Linked DNA regions of Homo sapiens: region 2 is linked to region 1. The links are contacts of gene promoters, found by promoter capture Hi-C in blood cells and fetal thymus (Javierre and others, 2016). All regions are on one chromosome and are shown on one strand. Each heading gives the region's core, a stretch centred on a gene start or on the middle of the fragment in contact. The rest is flanking DNA. Distances are from core to core; before and after follow the strand shown.

What was found. Contacts are between HindIII fragments. The CHiCAGO score rates a contact against its expected background, and 5 or more counts as called.
Region 2: a contact is called between a fragment that was not itself captured here and the fragment with the promoter of MED6 in region 1, in 1 of 17 cell types (fetal thymus). The highest score is 6.8, in fetal thymus.

Annotation. Positions count from the first base shown.
Region 1 is chr14:70,597,604-70,602,648 of GRCh38, forward strand. It overlaps MED6 (mediator complex subunit 6), which reads right to left and starts at 3,052. Exons shown (of 8, transcript NM_005466.4): 1 at 3,013-3,052; 2 at 15-174. The coding sequence starts at 3,034. RefSeq lists an enhancer at 2,554-3,753. The HindIII fragment of the contact is 992 bases long and covers 2,907-3,898 here.
Region 2 is chr14:67,359,752-67,364,796 of GRCh38, forward strand. It overlaps EIF2S1 (eukaryotic translation initiation factor 2 subunit alpha), which reads left to right and starts at 577. Exons shown (of 8, transcript NM_004094.5): 1 at 577-705; 2 at 5,016-5,045. The coding sequence starts at 5,017. ATP6V1D (ATPase H+ transporting V1 subunit D) reads right to left here and starts at 53. Exons shown (of 9, transcript NM_015994.4): 1 at 1-53. It also overlaps a transcript of GPHN not described here. RefSeq lists enhancers at 1-12, 33-832. The HindIII fragment of the contact is 1,601 bases long and covers 1,702-3,302 here.

The DNA of each region.
Region 1 (5,045 bases), core at 1,802-4,301:
TTAAAATAACTTACTTCAAGTGTTCTAATGTTAGCCTCTGCATTTTGACCACTTCATTATTACATGTTCTGTCATAAAAAGGATTACTTCTTTCTGAAAAGTAATCCAGGACACTACCACTGTTCAAAATAGGGATCCAAGAGCTGTCAACCCAAGAAATTCCCAGCAGATTGTCTATGGGAAAGAAAACAAAATGATAAAGGATTAGAAAAATAGAAAGAATCCAATCCAACAAACATTTATTATACATCAAATGTAGTAGGCACTATGAATATAAGGATGACATAGATCCTAACCAACACACTCTCATGATGTAACAGAAGAGATTATGCAAGAAAGCAATAACATGATTAAGTCTTATGATAAAGACATGGTGAAACCCTGTCTCTACTAAAAATACAAAAAATTCTGGCCGGGTGCGGTGGCTCAGCCTGTAATGCCAGCACTTTAGGGGGCTGAGGTAGGTGGATCACCTGAGGTTGGGAGTTTGAGACCAGCCTGACCAACATGGAGAAACCCCGTCTCTACTAAAAATACAAAATTAGCCTGGCGTGTTTGTGCATGCCCATAATCCCAGCTACTTGGGAGACTGAGACAGGAGAATCGCTTGCACCCAGAAGGTCTCGGAGATTGTGGTGAGACGAGATCACACCATTGGACTCCAGCCTGAGCAACAAGAGTGAAACTCCGTCTCAAAAAAAGAAAAAAAACAAAACAAAAAATTAGCCGGGCATGGTGGTGGACACCTGTAATCCTAGCTACTCGGGAGGCTGTGGCAGGAGAATCACTTGGACCCAAGAGGCGGAGGTTGCAGTGAGCTGAGATCGCGCCACTGCACTCCAGCCTGGGCGACAGAGCGAGACTCCGTCTCAAAAAAAAAAGACATGAAGAAATGTGTTACGAGACTACAGAGGACCTGGGGAAACGAAAATCATTTTTCATGTGGAGAGAAGGTGGGTTTTAGCACGGTATGTTAAAGAATAAATAAAAACTTACACAGAGAAAAGGGCAAAGTAATTCCAAGCAGAGAGAATGTATATACAGAGGTGTAAAAATATAAAGTATATTATATCTTTAGAGAATAATTTCATTAGGTGAAGAAGTGATAAGATTTAAAATTTAGAAAGGACTTTTTTTTTTATTGGAAATCCTTAATGCTGGCAAGGAATTCAAAATTTTCAAATAACATGTATGCCCAAGAGAACACATCTATAGCTACCAGTTTGAGATCTCTCAATTAGGGATAGAGAAGTTAGGAAGCTATTATTGTAGATGAGATGATAATGATGTAAAAGCTAAGGGATAAACAGGAAGTAGAGTTCCCTTAACTACAGCCACACGGTTTCATATTTAGCGTAGAATTAAATCATAGCTTTTAAAAAGACATGATAGAGCTAGATACTTTTAATAAATGAGCTTGTATTGGCTATTGGCTTTCATGATGCTTCATACCACTGACTGTACTGAACACCACTAGGTGTAAATCATGAACATCAAAATGCCTATACAATACTGGTTGAAAAACTTCAATCTCTCTTATACTGTCATTACCTCAGGCATCTTCAAAGAAGTCAGACCTAATTCAAGGTGACAGGCAGTTTTGAGCCAAGTGACTCAACCGAGAAAAATTATATAAAGGTAAAATGTACTTTGTGTGCTATAAAATAAAGGAGGAGACAGATGAAGTGCGTTAATAACCAAATAATTAGTATAGACCATTTAGATAGTTCATCATAACTGGATCATGCAATAACCAAATACACAACAGGCCAGGAAATAACATTTTCAGAAATGGCCTCCTAACTGGTTTTCCTAATTCTACCCTTGCCCTCCTACACTGTTCCCAGCAGCCAATGTAGTCCTAAAAAAAAGTCAGATCACATCATTCCTCTGATGGAAACCCCTCCAATGGCTCTGCGTTTTACTCAGAGGAAAAGCCAAAGACCTTATCATAGCTTTCAACACCTTTCTGACTTCATCTCCTTCCCACATCCTCTCTCACTACCCTCCAGCCACACTGACCTCCTTGCTGTTCCTTTAACACACCAAACACACTCTTATTTTAGAGTCTTTGCCATGATCCTAACAATCTGAATTATAAGTAAAACATTTTATAAACTAAATATTTCTCTTTTTTATTCTGTAGCAAGGCAACATGTTGACATAGCCCAAGCATTCTAACAGCATTCTAACCATCAGCAAGTGATGAAATAAATAATGAAAGACACGTATGTAAAATCATGATCCAGAAGTGCTGCAGATCGCCAGATAAGTATAAATGAGAATATTTGTAATAAATGTGTTAGACCCCAATCCAGTTAATATTAAAAAAAGGCATCTCAAACATCTCCCTTTAAAAATCAAGTACTATATACACAAAAACAACTCTACATGCTCCCCAAGATCAAGCAGCAGTTAAGGGGTGACATCTCCATACATTTATTCACTGACTGATTCAATATTTGAGTACTTCTGCAGTTCAGCTGTGAAAAAAATACGACCCCTGCCCATAATAATTGCTGGACGTTCGATGTAAAGTATTATCGACTCAAAAAAAAAGAAAATATCTGGGATTCATGCTCAGGGACCCGTGTGGCGCGGTCTAAAGAATTAGGCAGCCACCATGCCAAGTCCCAAGAGATGAATCAAATCAAGTTGGCTTATTACCCCATTCCCTTCTCTGCCTAAACGCCATTCCTTCACTCCAATAGAATAGCCCTAATGTTGTTGCAGAGATACGTGTGTAGAACAAAACTCCAGCTCTGAAAGCTCAAAACCCAGAGCTTCTTCCAACCCCTTCTCTCCGACGCTTCCAAGAGACGCTCCAAGAACTCAGAAAAAAAAAAAAACTCGTCAACGTTTCGCTAGATCACAGCCTTGGGTTGTCCACAAAAACCACTCAAAAAAGCTTGAGACTTCACACAAAGGAACCTAAACCTTGAAACCGCGAGCTATAACATCCCAAACTGGTCCACAGACAATCAAGAGACAAAATATAGCAATACAGTATACCTCGGATATCCACCGCCGCCATAATTCCGAGAGCGTTTACAGGTTCTCTTTCCGGCGCAAAGTAAACGTAAGCCTAGGCCGCCGGAAGCAGCGGGTTGAAGAGAGTGCGCATGGGTGAGGAGGGACGTAGAGCGGAAGAGGGGGCGGGGCGGGCAGGAGAGAGGCAGGGGGTGGAGGTGCGGGTGGGAGGGGAGGAGACGCGAGGGGGCGGAAAGCGGGAGAGGCGCGGGAGGCGGGAAACGTGGGGTGGGGTGGGGTGGGGTGGGGTAGGGGAATGGGAGGGGACGGGACGCAGAAAGATTGGTGCAGGGGAGCAGGGAAAGACTAGAAGAGGGATGGGCCAAAGAAGGAGAACGGGAGGGCGGATTACTGGGAAAAAAATTAGAAGACTTAGAGGACAGAAAGACCGAGTGGAGTCCCGCCCCACGCCCACCACTGATGGAAGAATTCTGCCTTGATCGTCTGTGATCGTCAAGAAAACAAATTCTGATGCTGTAGAGTTGTGCTTGGGAGTGTCTCTTAATTTTAAAAGCTCCCCGGGTGTATCCACTGAGCTATCAGATTTAGGAACGATGGTCATTTATATTTTTCTCCCTGCCTCAGGTATTGGGATGGGACAGGACTTAAGAATTTGGGAGTCATTGGCTTTTATGTGACTAAATCCATTAAAAATCTAAACCAATTAAAGAAGCCTCTGAGAAAAATTTCACAACACAGGAAATGCTTCTGAAGTGAAATATTAATAAGATTAAGAGAAAGGGAATACCCCTGGGTCCCAGAGTAATGAGCAAATGTCTGCATTCCAAGTAGTCTGGAGTAGGTAGCAAGGCTCCAAAGAGGGAATGATTCTGTGTACGGGGAAGCTACAGAAAGCCTCAGATTCTCAAGCTTCAGTGTGGCTCTGTAAAAGCAAAACGATACAGAAATATGCAAACAACACACAGATACTAGGAAGAGGATGCCAAAATCTGAAGGAGGGATGAGGGCGGGTGCCTACATCTTCTCCAAAACTTAGGTACTGTGAAGACTCCCCAAGAATTTAACCACAACCCAGGAGCAAGAGGGGAAGACCAGAAATTTAATTGGGATTTTCAACCTCATAGACAAGGAATTAAAAATTTGTTAACTCCGTAGAATAAAAGTACGTTGCCTGTACATTTCAGTTTGGGAATTTTCTGCCTGAGATGGTATGTATAAAATAGGTGTCCCAACAGAAGTATGTGCATGCACAGAGTAAAGTTTTGAGAGAGAATTTTTCAGGAGGGCCTGGTTGGGAGCCTAGTGGGAGGACATTGCAAAAAGGAAGAGTATCGTGTCCAATAAAAAGTGTGATCCATAAAGCTTTTTGTTTTGTTTTTCTAGTTTTTTGTTTCCTTGTGTTTTGATTAGGCTAGAAGGAGATTAGGAAGAATAGTGACAGAATGCAGATCTGTAGATAATAAAACATATGGTATGCATGGTAAATAAGACCTGGAAGCTCAACCTTTATTTTGTAGGCAATGGGAGAAATGTGATCAAGCTTCCATTTTAGAAAGATAACTTGAGGAAGACAGGGCAAGGTGGCTCACGCCTGTAATCCCAGCACTTTGGGAGGCCAAGATGGGAGGATTGCTTGAGCCCAGGAGCTGGAGACCAGCCTGGTCAAGATAGCGAGATCCCATCTCTATTTCTTTTATATTAATTGTTTCAGTTAATAAAGAAATATAAATTAAAAAGTGTGGTAACAAAAACAAGAGAAGACAAGATAGGGAGGAAGCCACTTTGGGTAGGACAGTCAGGACAGGCCTCTCTGAGGAAGTGATACCTGAGATGAGACCTGGAAGATGAAAGCAAATCACTCATGTGAAGAGCTGGGGCACAAGCATATCAGACAGAGGGGACCATGGACCCTACAGTGGGAAAGGGGTTGGTCTGAGAACCACAGAAAGGCCAGTGTAAGCCGGGTTGTATGAGTGAAGGATGAATGATGGGAAAAGAGACTGGGAATGAAGGCAGGGGCCAGATGATAGAGAGCCTGGTCAATAATTTATTTT
Region 2 (5,045 bases), core at 1,252-3,751, 3.2 Mb before region 1:
AGCTCCAGAACTGGCCTCCACAGTGTCTTCCTCTACGGGAGTCAGCTGGTTGTGTCACTTGACCCCTCTTGTTGCTAAGAGGCAGCAGGGACACCCATTTTCACTTCCGCTTCCGGTTGTCACAGGCGACGAAGGGGGAGGACAGAACAGAGGCGTTGCCCGGATGTCGAGGCGCGCGCACCGCGGAACCACCCCTCAATTCCGGTTCGCCTCCCAACCCCTCCCCATCCAGCTTCCCTGCGGCTGCGCAATACGCGGCACGCGCCAGGCCAAAGACTAGGAGCGAAGCGTGCACGCCTTGTCTTTCTCCACCTTTCGTCTTTGGTCACAGCGCCATCTCATGGTTAGCTGAAACTTTGAAAGAGGATTCATTCTTCAGAGGCAAGGAATCGGAGTCCTATGTCTTTCTCGCGCCTTGAAGGTTACTTAGCTAAAGCTAAGATAGCGAGAAACAGTACTTTTCAGGTCCTTCCATGATCTACATTCGTCCTTGTTCTCGGAGGACCCAGACTCTATGGTTAATGATGAAGAGGGGCCTCTATTCGTTCAGCGCTTGCGCATGCGAGGAGGTTCCGCATGCGCGGTGGAGTGAGCGAAGCGCACGCTGAGGAGGATCGGCGGCCGGTGAGGGGGAAGCAAGTCTGGTCTCTGTGATTGAAGAAGTCGGCTCTGGGCTCCAGTGCGGGAATCACACACATACCTCAGGTGACTAATCCCAAGCTCGGTTTCTCCAGGAACTCACTTTGGTTTGTGTCCAGTGACATGGGTGTTCGAGAGCGGGTAGGCCCCGGGCTAATACCTCCCTTTCCCGTCCCTGCGCGGGAAGTGGCTGGACAGCACCGCCACCACCCGCGCTGTCGTGGGCCTCCTCGCCGGCTCCGTGTAGGTCATCCTGTGTTCCAGAGGCATCGTTGTTCGAGCAGAGGAATCTCGTGAAGGAAAGTGGGCCGAGTGGATTGTACAGCCTCTACAATATGCCGAAAGTGAGAATGCCATGACGATGGGGCGGTCTCAGGAGAACGCTGTGACACCGTAACTCTTAACCCCGGCTCAGGACGCTGAGCACTTTGCTTTTTCCAGGCTTGAGAATTCCATCTTTTCTTCCGCCCCAACAGCTCTACCAAAAATTTCCCCTGCGTCTCAGTGGAAACCAAACTGGCCTCTTACCTGAGAAACCTGTGGGACGGGCACCGTGTTGGAAAGAGCGGGGTCCGAGTAGTTTTTCATCTGATAATTGAATGAGTCACCCCTTGAACCAAAACTAAATGAGACTTGAGTTTATTACTGTTACTATCAGTTTGTCGTATTTTGGCGACAATGAGAATAGAACTGTGTTAAGCATATGTTAGGTTAACTATGTTAGTTAAGCATAACTAAAACCTAAGATAAGGATATATTTTCGGGTTAAATACACAGTCATGCTGAGGTCTCTTTATCCTCAAAACTTAGGCTTTTTAAATTTTTATTAAGCAAAAAACATGGTTTCTTCGAGAAAAAGTATAGCAGAGAAGTCTTTATTTCCCCTCAATTGAGTTGTTATTCAAGGAACAATCTCTGTCAATAGTTTGGGGGTGACTTGTACAGAACTTTGCTACCTATTCTTAGTTCATCTGGTGCCAAAAGATGTAGTTGTCTCATGCACAGTAATGTTTGTAGAGATTCGGTGATAACTTTCTTTTTCAACTATAATGATGAAATAAAAGCTTTACTTATGTAGCACTCCTATACCAAGAACTAGCATTCAGAGAGCATTCCTAATACGTGTTAGATCCAAATTAGAATTATCACGAGAGTTGTCCCCATCACATAATATATTTTGGAAAGGAATGTGAACTTCTATATCCATTATAGCAGTTTGACCATGCACTGTTTTGAGAAAGAAGTCCTACCTACCATTTGTCATGCAAAATAACTGACTATGCAGGGTATTTGAAATTAGCCTGGAGTTTGGTTGATATATTTTGAAAGGTGGCTGATACTTTTTACATCAGAACACATAAGAGTATTATAGCATGTTGTGATATTGAGGTTCTGTGGGTTAAAGACATTCTGGATTTGATGTCGGATTACTTGAGTTTAGCTCCTACGCTAGTACTTATTAAGCATTTGTTCTTAAGGAAGTATTATAATTTAGTATTTCTGTTCCACCTTTCCTGTTCATTGCTTCACTGTGCCCTTTCATAGTACTTTGTATTGTAATTATTTGCTTGCTAGTTTGTTTCCCACTCTATACTTAATTACTTAGGTAAGAGTCTTTTTTTTTTTTCTTTTTTCTTTTTTCTTTTTTTTTTTGAGACAGAGTCTCTGTTGCCCAGGCTGGAGTGTAGTGGCACGATCTCAGCTCACTGTAGCCTCTGCCCCTGGGTTCAAGGGATTCTCCTGCCTCAGCCACTATAGTAGTGGGATTACAGGTGCCTGCCACCACACCCAGCTAATTTTGGTATTTTTAGTAGAAATGGGGTTTCACCATGTTGACCAGGCTGGCCTCGAACTCCTGGTTTCAAGTGATCCACCCGCCTCGGCCTCCCAAAGTGCTGGGATTACAGGTGTGAGCCACTGCGCCTGGCCTGGTAAGAGTCTTTCTTGTTGTATCATTAGTGCTTAGTACATAGTAGCTACTGAAAAAAAAATTAACAAATTATTATATTACAAAATGGAAATACCTTCTTTTTCTTTCAATATTTTATGTTTGACTAGCACATAATGGTTTTCAAAATGTTTTTACGTATACATGTGATACCCTCAGTAAACCTGTGATGTACATGGCACAGATGAGAAACTACAGTTCAAAGGATGTTATCTTTCCCAAGCAGCCACTTCTAGTAAGTAGCAGAGCAAGGACTGGAACACAAGGCTAGAGTTGTTCCCCGAGTTTACTATGTTAATTGCCTGATTTGACACTTCTTGAGGACCAAATAAAATAAGAATGCTGTGAAAAAGATAAAGAGGTGAAGTCACCTAGTGTGACTTCGATATTGCGGAATGATTTTTTTAAGTTAAAAAAAAAATTTAAGTTATTAGCATTTCATTAGGCAATATGTTCAAAAATTGTCAACCAATATGCAGGTTTTTGTGGTATGGATTCTTTTTGTACTTAACTACTATCTATCTTTACTATGAATAACATACCATCAACAGTATTCCTTTACTTACCCTTTATGTTGCAAAGAGACTTGTGCCTCCTGAAGAAATAGTATTCATAGTCATATCCCTTCAGGATTCTCTTACATGATTGCCCATGTTTTTTAACCATCAAATTAAGCCTTGCTTCCCCTAAAAGCATCACCTTTACTGTTTGGAGAAGCTTGGTAAGTAAATGTGGTTTTCACTGGTCAAATGTCTTGCAACTGTTCCATACATTTCTGTAACATAGTTTATTTTTATGCCCAATTTGAAACTTTTTAGCTCTCAAATTTGAGAGCTTTACATACACATATTCAACAACAGTTTCCCCACCCCCACCCTCGAAAAGCCCTGTTTAAAAACGAAACAAACAGTCAGCTGTTTCTTGGTGGGTAAGGCCATTGAATGTCTACTTCTCTTTATTTGCTAAATCCCTATTTTGTAGGGATTTTGTATTCCCTACAAAGAAATACATCTCTGCTACTGTCATTAATATGCTGCTCTTTGTTGTCAAACAGATGAGTACTAATAGTTTGCACTTATTGGTGTTATGTACTCTGGCACTGAATATATATTAATGTTGCTTTTTAAGTAAAATGTTTCTAATTATAATATATTTATGAATAGTTTTGAGAGAATATAGTCTTACTGATAAGAGGACAGACTCTGGATCCAGACTTCATGGATTCAAATCCTGACTCATCACCTGTTAGCAGTATGTGAAAGAACAAGTAACTTAACCTGTGCTTCAGTTTTTTAATCTATAAAATGGGGAGAACTAGGGAGAAAGTTGTACCACAAGGAGATAGGCAATGGCCAGATCATATAGGATTCTGTAGGTAGTGGAAAGATACATAAGTCAGTGGGAAGCCACTGAGAAGATATAGGCAGGTGCCAATTAATAAGTTATTATATGAATTTTCACAAGGTTTTCTTAGGCCTTTAAGTTCTGTTACTACCTACGTTTTGAGCAGTGACAACAGTGAAGGTTAACAGAAAAACATGAAAATCATCAGCCATGATTAGTTTGAGAGCTTCCTTTTTTAAATATGCTTCTACCCAGGCTATGATTTCAGGCTTGTGGATCATAAAAGGAGTAGTGCTGAAAGTAGGTTGGGTGGATCAAAGGGAATAATTGTAAATATCTTTAATGCTTGGAGGTTAAGAGAAACTTGAACTTTGTAGTAATGGAGATTAAAGCTATTCTCAAGATTAGGTATACCTATTCAATAAAAGAAAGGAATATTTGGGAGTATTGGGGATAAGAGAAGCTAGACATTGTGAATTCAAGGAAAAAGAATTATGAGAGGAGGATGCATTTTAGTTTATTTTGTGATTAAAATTTTTTTAGTTTTTGTTGTTTTGACATGTGACACTGTAATTTTGGCTATAATAAATGACAGAATGTATCATTTGGTATATTGGTTAGGGTTTAGGTAGAAAATTTTTTCCTTTATATAGTGAGTGGTAGCGTATACAATGTTTGCTCACTTCGGCAAAGAGTAGCTTTAGTTTTCTGATTAGTTATAATAGTGATGCTTCCCATCATTTGATATGCCTTAAAGTAGTATTTTACTCTTGAGGTATTCCTTTAATCCTTAGGTCTTGGAGTACTTTATAGATGGTCATTATTTTTTATGATTCCTCTGAAACTAAAGGCAGAGAATCACCCAAGCATTACAAAAATGTTGAGCAAAATAAAAATTAAAGCTTGGTTCCTGAACATTATCTGTTTTCTGGTACCACTTAAGAAGTTTCAAAGGATGAGAAGACTAAGACTAATAACTATTTTTTTCTTCATCTTTTCTTTCAGTGGCAGGATGTGGAAATTGATTTTTTTTTTATTTTCACCTTAACTGAATACTTACTTAATTCTTTTGTTTAAATTGCAGAATGCCGGGTCTAAGTTGTAGATTTTATCA